Regions from separate parts of the Homo sapiens genome. Here region 1 is linked to region 2. Evidence: promoter capture Hi-C in human tissues and cell types (Jung and others, 2019). All regions are on one chromosome and are shown on one strand. Each heading gives the region's core, a stretch centred on a gene start or on the middle of the fragment in contact. The rest is flanking DNA. Distances are from core to core; before and after follow the strand shown.

What was found. Contacts are between HindIII fragments. The study calls those that stand out against the background at their distance.
Region 1: a contact is called between a fragment that was not itself captured here and the fragment with the promoter of TTYH3 in region 2, in 1 of the 25 tissues and cell types used here (dorsolateral prefrontal cortex).

What each region holds. Positions count from the first base shown.
Region 1 is chr7:3,908,066-3,912,875 of GRCh38, reverse strand. All of the region lies in intron 5 of SDK1 (sidekick cell adhesion molecule 1), which reads right to left. Among named protein-coding and RNA genes, the nearest start is that of SDK1-AS1, 560 kb to the right of the region's middle. RefSeq lists an enhancer at 772-1,971. The HindIII fragment of the contact is 4,501 bases long and covers 1-4,097 here.
Region 2 is chr7:2,629,519-2,634,160 of GRCh38, reverse strand. TTYH3 (tweety family member 3) reads right to left here and starts at 2,175. Exons shown (of 14, transcript NM_025250.3): 1 at 1,883-2,175. The coding sequence starts at 2,005. RefSeq lists enhancers at 665-774, 554-1,286, 2,019-2,750 and a silencer at 1,825-2,234. The HindIII fragment of the contact is 13,143 bases long and covers 1-4,642 here.

The DNA.
Region 1 (4,810 bases), core at 598-3,097, 1.3 Mb before region 2:
TTTTTTTGGTTAAGGACTAGAAATCTTTTTCAAGCAAGTCCATGTATAAATAAAGAAATCGGGTCTTCTTCTCCACCCAGCTGCCAAGTCCCTTAGGTCTCCTTCCTCTTCCTTCTGTCAACTGTCTTGAGCCCCCACGGGCCAGACCGTGCCGGTCTCTGCCAGAGGAGAATGATAAGTAAATGCATGAAAAGCCATCCGTGGGGTGGGCCCAGGGGGCAGGAGAGCCCAGAAGCGGGTGCCCCAGCCATGCCTGCCTGGGAGAGGGAGGTATTTGGAGGAGTTGTGGGTGGTTGGCTTCCCTATCTTCAGTCCACTGAAGCTTAGCTTGAGCAATCAGTACCTCTTCCCCGGATAAATATCAAAGCCTCTCACTGGCCTTTCTTCTTGCTTCAGCGCCTCACAGAATGCAATGTTTCTTGAACCACACTCTGTGGCACGCTGGTGTTGTACTTGCTTATTTGGTCATGCAAAAACACTGAGTGCCTACTGTGCACCAGTTACCGTGAAAAAGAGGTTTTGTGGTCAAATACATTTTGGAACTCTCTCTTCTCAGAGTTCACAATACACGCATTAGCATCTGAAAGCAAATTTTGGAATAAATAAAGAAAGCTCCTCCTCCTATAGCCTAAGAAACACATTTAGAAATGGATCCACTGGCTCATCCTCTCTATTACGGAGTCCTCTTCCTAAAACACAGCGCTCATCACGTAGCTCCTCGGCTTTAAACCTTCAACGAGGGAACAAAATAAACTTCGACTCTGCTCAAGCTCCTCTGTAGTTTGGTTTGTTTCCCAGACTTCCTTGGCCGATCCTTTGTTCTAAGTGAACAGGGCCCCCTTGCCCTGCACGCCCCCGCACCTACAAGCTCTTGCTCAAGTTGGCCCCTTCCCTAGAATGCCCTCCCCCACCTCATCTCTGCTCTGAGTCATCCTTCCAGGTGCAAGTCAAACGTCTCCACAGCAAGGTGAGTACTTTATCCAGCTCCCTCAGGTCACATATTTGCACCCTGCACTAGATTATAGCATGATTCACTACTGAGGGAAATTTATAATTTCCCCTTAAGCTCCTCCAGGGCAGGGCCTGCTCCTTGTTCAGCTGACTCATTTTCACATCTGTGTGACCTCCCTCCTCCAACACCTAATACAGAACTAGAGACAAAATGGGTACAGTAAAGAGATGGCTGGCCTGGGCTACCACCGGCTGTAAGACCTTGGGCAGGTGATGTGGTTTGAATGTGTCCTCCCAAAATTCATATGTTGAAACCTGCTACCCAAGGTCATAGCATTAAGAGGTGGAGCTCTGGGGAGGAGAATGGATCAGGAGGGCAGAGCCCTTGTGAATGGGATTAGTGCCCTTCCTCAGGTAGCCTGAGGAAGCCCGTCTGCCCTTTCCGCCATGTGAGGACACAGCAAACCAAGAAATGAGCCCTCACCAGACACCGAATGTGCTGGTGCCTTGGTCTTGGACTTCACAGCCTCCAGAACTGTGAGCAGTAAGTTTCTGTTGCTGACAAGCCACTCTGTCTATGGCACTTTGTTACAGCCCCCCAACAAAGACAGTAGGCTGCCTAATTCTGATTGCTGCCCCTTCCTAAAGTGGGGGTACAGGATCTAGAGGACAAAGAAGCATGGGTTTTAAATTCAGCCATTTCACAGGCAGAAGGAACAATCCCACAGCCACAGCAGCCATGTGAGCACATGTGCCTTCAGGTTTATCTGTAATTTTTTTTATGTGTCCTTTCAACTTTTGTCCCAGTTACAAAGACTGCAGAGGCCTCCAGCCGGGCCACCCTAGTCCCCCCAAAATGGAGAGCTGACCCAGAGGCAAGGCCACCCTCTTGGAAAGGCTGTGCATCAGTGGCGCTGGAGGAGAGCGGAATGCCCAGAAGAGCAGGCAGCGGGAGACAGAGCAGCACGCCTGAGCTTGGGGAGAGAGGAGCCACAGGGCCCCAGGAAGAGGCCCACCCTGCTCCACAGCGTGGGCCACATTTATGGGATACAACAGAATGCCGATTATCCGGACTAACTGGGGATTTAACAATCTGAATAATCAGTTTTTCTGGATAATTGATCACGAGGGATGCAAGGAGAGGAATCATCAGCCATTCAGGCAGAAAGGCCCAAGAATTGGCCTTTCAAGTGACCTGAATTCCAGAAATTAACACTGAACACTATGTATCATGCAACTGGGAAAGGAGGACGTCCCATTCTACACCTGTCAATCACCGGAGCCTGGGCAGCGTACTTATGCAAAAAACAAGACTGGGGTCTCAGGAAGACCTTCTTAGAGGCCTGTAAAAGCTTCAGACTAGGATGGTAGCGCCGAAGGTAACCGAATGGCACGATGACTCAGTACTTTTTGGTGACCTCCGAAAGCTCAGGCACCTTCCAAAATGCTAAGGACACAGATGCCCGGCACACACATACACACACAGAAATCTGGCCTCTTCAGGAAATATTCCGCACTATGCAGCTATTTTCCCTACACATGCAAATTCTCCAACACAGAGAGTCTTTGTACACATAATACTGTTTGAAGAATGTGCCTGACAAGAGACAATTTTGAACAGAGTATTGTGCTGTGGTGATGTGGCAGCACAGCAGAATAATCTGTTTTTGTTTTGTCTCTCTTTGAAACGCTCAGCCTCTCTCTCTGCTTGGCTCTGTGCACTACAGAGAGAACAGAGGCACCAAGCGCTGCACATTCCAGGGGAAAATAATGCTCCTGTCTGCTGACGCAGCACCACGCAGGGGGCCATTCGCACACAGGACTTTTTCTTTTTCCCCCTGCAAAGAAACACAATGATTCCACATCAGCCTCTCCAAAAAGTGAACAGTCCTTTCAGATGGCCTTTCCATCCATGAGCGCTTTTATTATCTTTATACATTTTAAATGAACCTTGCCCTTGGCCTCTACTTTTTCTAACATGAAATATTCACTTCCCCGGGGTGTAGATGCATAATAATCCCTCCTGCTCATTATAGGTTTTCAAAGCTGCATTTCCATCCTGTTGTATTTAACTTTTATTCAAAAAAAGGCTGATTTATATATGAAGAGGTGCCTCGCTTTAGGCAAGCACGCTATGCAAAAAGATAAAGCCATCGACCATGAGAATTAAGAGACGGATGGTTCTTTAATCCCTGAGCTTCTTTGTAGTAAATTAAAAAATATTCCTACTTTAAAGCCGTGTATTTGTGTATCCTTAGACATAATACAGCCTCATACTGGAGAGCGCATATAGGCCAGCTCCACGGACACACATGTGATGAGTGCTCAACACTGTAGTGGGTGTGGTGGGGTCACTAACACCGTCACTGTCCCCTTTTCCCGAGCTTACTGTCTTTGGGAGAGGTAGGGATCAGCAGAAGCATAAAAGGTAGACAGTGTTGCTGTGTGGCCATATGAACCTGAGCAGAGGCCACAACTGGAGGACGGAGGAGGTCCCTCAGGATGGGCAGAGGCTACTCCACCCACCCCTGCTCCACAGCTGCTCCACAGGAGCCAACAGCAGTGCCTGCACAGTAGATGGGGTGTCCGCCCCGCAGCCCAGGCAGGATTTAAGTCTGGAGTTATTGGCGGCCATCTGGTCACCACCCGAGAGAGCCTGCTGGAGAGCAGAGCTGAACTAGAGGACAGCAGAACTCCGTAATGGAAAACAGGTGTATGATGGAGTAGAGGATGAGGGTCTCACTGCGTCTGAAGATGGTCTGCCTTGGACCCTTCTCTGACTTATGCCAAGATACTTCCTATTTATTTCTAAAGCCAACTCCAGGAATAAATAACTTTTAGGGCAACTGAGAGAAAAGGGGGCCAAAAGGCACAGCCAGAGGGGCTGTCTTCCTCATCTCCTCCCACCCTGGCTCACTTGAGCAGGGGGCAGCCATCCGGGGCAGGCTCACCTCCATCTCCTGATGGCCCACCCCAACTCCAGTGTCACCCACACTGGTAGAAGAAACATCCTAGGGAAGTAGGAGAGTCCAACCCATACCTTTCTAATGTGGATCACTGTCTCTGTATTCTAAGGTACCAAAAAAAAAAAAAAATGAATTCTTTCCTCCTAAGTCCCCCCAAAAATGCTTCCTTTTCCTGACTCCCGCTCTAGACATCCGGGAGACACAGGGAAAATAAATTTATCATGTATTCTCTTACAAAAGAAGATGATTTCCCCTTTGACATGAAAAATATATTAAAGAGGATTTGGAGGAAAAGACAATTATCAGGATAGGCTTAGGTGTGAGAAGAGGTTGAGATGAGTACTTGCGGAATATTTAAAGGAAGGAAGGAAGAGATGAATGGTGGCTGTACCAGATGGGCTAAGCATCAGAATATCACCCTTTTTAGGGGAAGCTGCCTATGAATCTCTATGCAGTTTCCAAATGACCCAGCAATCCTGGACGCAGCTGAGTGGACCGCTGAGTGGACTGCGGGTGAGCATCTGGCCAGCCGTGTATGAAGGGATGTGTCGACGCTGTCGGGACACGAGGTTCGTGGTGGGGAATGAGACCAAGCTGATCGTCTCCTGGATCTGGCGTCATTCCCAAGAATCCTGCCCTCCCTGCTTCCACTTGCATTTGTGCAATGAATTTTCCATCCCATGACAGAACTTCAGTGAGTGTTCACTGTTTGCAGCCCAACGCGCAAAGTGAGCGGGACACAAGGCGCTCATCCGGGTTATGCGCACGGCCCATTCTGTGCTTTCCTGTACCGCAGCCCTCAGCACGTTACTCCAGGGTTAATTTTCTCTGTGTGTATCACAGAAGCCAGCACATTACGGGCACTCAATAAATGTTTGTTAAATAATGAAAGC
Region 2 (4,642 bases), core at 926-3,425:
GGGGGATGGAGGCAGGCCGGTTTCCACATCGTGAATTATTCAGTGGCTAATTCTGCTCTGTGGAGATGAGGCAGGAGAGAGAGTGAGTCAGAGCCCTCCCACAGCAGAGCAGAGCGCAGGGCAGGGGAGGAAAGGGGGCAGAAGCCAGGGCCTCCCAGGGCCATAGCACCCTGCTGGAGGCCAGGCAGGTCAGGCTGAGCAGAGGGGCCTGGCTACTGCCCGGAGGCTCTTGTGGGCTGCAGACATCATCGCCCCTCACTCCCTCTCACTGCCTGTCTCGAATGTGGGAATGCAGGCACCCCGGAGGGCTGGAAGGAAGTCCAACTGTGGCTGGCAGCTCGGGCAGGTGGCAGCCCAAGGGGCAGCAGGAAACAGCCGCCCCCCACGCCCCAGGGCTGCCCCGGAGCTTAAGAACTGACAAATGGGCCAAACCCTCAGGGCAGAGAACTTTCCAAAGTGAAGCACACCCTCCTTGCAGCTTCAACAGAGTCCTCCAGGGACAAGTGGCAAAGCCATCAGCATGGAATAAGTTCCAGAAGTTCCTGAATGTGCATTGCCCCCACACTGAACGGTCCCCCAGGGCTGGGCTTCTAGAACGCAGGCGTGAGATTTTATACCAATCCTTCCGCCTCCCTCCTCCCTGCTGTGTCTGGGCGTGCCTGGGCCGATCCCTCGCCCCCTTCCTCATCTGTTAGGAAACGTCATCGGCTCGGCTGGGGGGCCTGGGTGCAAGTGAGCGCGAGGCTGGGAGCAGTGGGCTCCCAGGTGCCCTGCTCCTCCACTTCCGCCTCCCTCCTCTGGATGCGGGAGGCCACAGACAACGCAGTTCTGAAGAGTCCAGGTGCTAGGCTGCCCGCGGAATACCGGATTCCCAAGCCATTTTGATAAGCAAAGCCATCCCCACCCCACCATGGGGCTCTGCCATGATCCGTCCAGAGAGAAACTCCGGGTGACCAGGGACCCTGGTCACGGGGCTTCTGGAATCCGGATCTCTAGGCAGGAAGGAAATGCCCACAGCTTGGTCCCCTGCCCCGCACTCAAATGACAGTAGCTTGGCGATGGGGGTGGTGCTGGGGCCTGGCATGATGCCAGGCTAAGGGCTCCCCTGGGAGAGGGCTGCAAAGGGCCCCCAGCCGCCCCCCAGGTCTGCCTGGGCTCAGCCGCTTCCAGCCTCCCTGCCTGAGGCCCACGGTGCTTCCTGGCCGCCGGGCCTCCCTCCCCCGGGGGCTACAGGCAGCCTGGTCTCCCACGGCCACACACGGCACCCTGTGTACATCCCACAGCCTGACCGCCAAGCAGGGGGTCATTACCGGCCACAGAGGGCTGGCGGCGGCCCAGGCCATTCACCCACTGGAAGCCTGGCAGTGGGATTCCCCAGTCGGGGGTGAGTGGGCGAGGAGTCTCTGCCTGCCTGCACCCAATGTGCTCAGGCACCCGCTCTGATCTCAGAGCCTGGGGGTCATCTGGGGAGGGGTCTCTGCTGGGACACAGCACCAGGCCGCCAACAGTGATGGTGGAGAGGCCCTCCACTGGCCAAGGGGGCTCACGGAGTGGGGAGAGGCAGCTCCATGAAACCCAGGGGCCTTAGTGACACCAGAAGGGAAGGCCAGAATCGGGAGGGGGGCCGTGGACCCTCACTGGGGGTTGGAGGGTATTTAGACCTTTGAGGAGGAGGCCATGACCCTGGAAGAAAGGGTCCTAGGACTCAGAAGGGACCCTCGAGAAGGAAGGAGGCCGGTACCTGCGAGGAGGAGGTGGCCGTGACCCTGGAGGGGGGGATGAGGGGTCTTTAGGCCCTCGGGGATGGGGGCCGTGACCCTGGGAGAGGAGGGGGCCGTGACCTGGGGTCCCTGACCCCGCGACCCCGAGAGGCCCATGTCACCTGCTGGTAGTCGGTGTCCTCGGGCCGGAACTGGCTGCTAGTGGCCTCCCAGCTCAGGTCGAAGTGGGGCAGCCGGTGCAGGAGGCTCACCCACCAGGGCGCCGCGTAGCTGACCCCGGCCATGGCGGGGCCCGGCCGCCTCCGGATGCGCGCGGCCTGCGCGGGGCTCCCTTGCTGGCCCGGGGCGCGGGCTTCAGGGACCCGTCGACCCCCGCCTGGCCGCCCGCATCATCCGCGCGCTCCTGGGCCCGGCCCGGCCCGGCTCGGCCCGGCTCGGCTGCGCTCGGCTCCGCTCGGCCGCCCGCGCCCGCCGCCTCTTTGTTCGCCGCCGCCGCCGCCGCCCCCTCCGCACCCCCGCCCGTCCGCCCGCCGGCCCCGCCCCCGAGCCTCCATTGGCCCGCCTCCCGCCAGCCCAGCCCCCGCGCGCCCCGCCCTCTGTCCCGCCTCTTACCCACCATTGGTCTATCCCCCGCCGATCCCGCCCCACAGCGTGCCCCGCCCACTCGCTCCTGAACCTCTATTGGTCCTTTTACCTGATGGTTTTGCCCCTCCACTCGCATCCCCGCCCATTACCCAATGGCCCCGCCCCTCCACGTGTCCCCGCCCTTCGGCCCCGCCTCTGTACCGTCATTAGTCCGCCGGCAGAAGCTCCGCCTACTTCCTCGCCTTCTTGGAGGGACGCCTGGCCCCTAAGGCGCTGGAAGACCGACCCTCAGCGCTGTAAGACCCGGGCCAGCCAGTCTTTCCACGTGGCCGTGGGGGCTGGAACCCTGGCTGCATATGCAGCTGCGCTTCATTCCATGAATTCGCTCTTCGTTTGGATCTTTGCATGTTTCTTATTTGACTCGAGGGTCCGGCCTGGTGGGCTGGGCTGGTCTTGGCCTCCCCATTGCACACACAACAGCCCACAGCCCGCAGCGCCCAGCAAGGCACCGAGTGGCCTATCTGTACAATGGACATGATCTGGATTCAGGGCCTGGCTGGGGCACCTAGAGCTGTGTGATCTGGGGCAAGTTACTTAACCACTCTGTGCATCGGTGTCCTTGTCTGTAAAAGGGGATGATAAAGCTACGAGTGTTGGCAGGGCGTGGTGGTGGTTCATGCCTGTAATCCCAGCACTTTGGGAGGCCGAGGCAGGCGGATCACCTGAGGTCAGGAGTTCGAGACCAGCCTGGCCAAAATGGTGAAACCCCGTCTCTACTAAAAATACAAAAATTAGCCAGGCGTGGTGGCGGGCGCCTGTAATCCCAGTTACTCTGGAAGCTGAGGGAGGAGAATTGCTTGGACCTGCGAGATGGAGGTTGCGGTGAGTGGAGATTGCGCCACTGCACTCCAACCTGGGCAACAGAGTGAGACTCCATCTCAAAAATAAAAAAAATTTTTTTTAAAAAGGTACGAGTGTTAAGTGGATCCGCAGGTAGATTCAGTCCCCATCCGGCCTTCCCTCTGGGGAAGGTTGAGTCTTTTGTCAAGACCTAAGATGAAGACGGTGCCCTGTTCTGGTGTCCTGGGGCCTAAAAATTCAGGCACCTGCCAGAGAGGGCCCATCATGGGCTTTGGAGCCACACAGCCAAATTTCCTAACAGGGCCTCCCCATGCCTGTGCCTCCTCCTTTGCTAAAGGGGAGATGGGAGCTGCCAGAGCCAGGAGGATGGACATAGTGCGTGCTTGGGCCCAGGTGCACGCCTCCCTCCGCACTCTAGGGCAGTGGGTGCATCCTGGCTCTGCTTCATCACCTGGGGCCTTATTCCTGGACCTCCTGTGTACTGAGAAACAGGTTTCCACACCCGGGCTCCACCATCTGCTGTGCCCGACTTGGCCAGCTCTGTGGGCAGGCAGGCCGTTCCTGGCAGGAAGAGCTCTTTGCAGGCAGGGACGGTTCCGGGCAGTGTCTTCCCAGGAGGCCTGGACTTTGGCTCATTGACTGCCCTGACTCGCCTGTTTTCCTGTGATAGGGCACCGGGCAAGAGGGACTAGCTGAGCTGCGGTTTCCACCCGCTGGATAACTTGGAGACACCACCCAGCTGGGAAATAACAGCCAGGCAGAAGGGGGGAGGTCGCATTCTCCATCCCTAAAGGCCGAAGAGCCAGAAATTTGGGGTGGGGTGGGGATACTGGCTCAGGTTCCTCTCTCTCCAATGCCAAGGATGGTGGGAGCTCCAGGCAGAATGAAGCCCCCCCCAACCCCCTAAGACCAAGGCTACCTACTTGGAGTGGGCTGGTACCTGGCCAGGTGAGTCCTCTTCTTTGGCGCCAGCTGATTGCTCACTGTGAACAGGTGGCTTAGGCAGGACGCCCACTCCTAGCCTGACACTGCTCCAGCATCCAGCCTGTGACCTCATCTCCACAGCCAGGGGATCGCCTGCACGGCCCGTGCCCTGGGCTGACTCTGACCTCAGAGTTCTGTGTCGCATAACTCCAGGGATGAACAGGGCAGTCCCTGGCCAGCTGCAGAAATTGTCCTCATGGCCTGAGATCGTTTCTGGTTCCTGCTGTTAGCAGCAGCTCCCATGGCCACAAACAGACCTCCTGCTTCCCCCCACCACAACTCCAGTGCCCTCCACACCAGCCTGGCAGCCCTGCCAGGGTACACACATGCAGGCAGGGGGTACAGGAGTTCCTTCCCCTGTTTCCAGAAGCCTGGCAAAATTGTACCTTTCCTTTTGATAAAGCCAGAAAGTCTGATGCAGACATGATGTGAGATGATAACTTAGGGTCAGGCACAGTGGCTCACGCCTGTAATCCCCACACTTTGGGAGA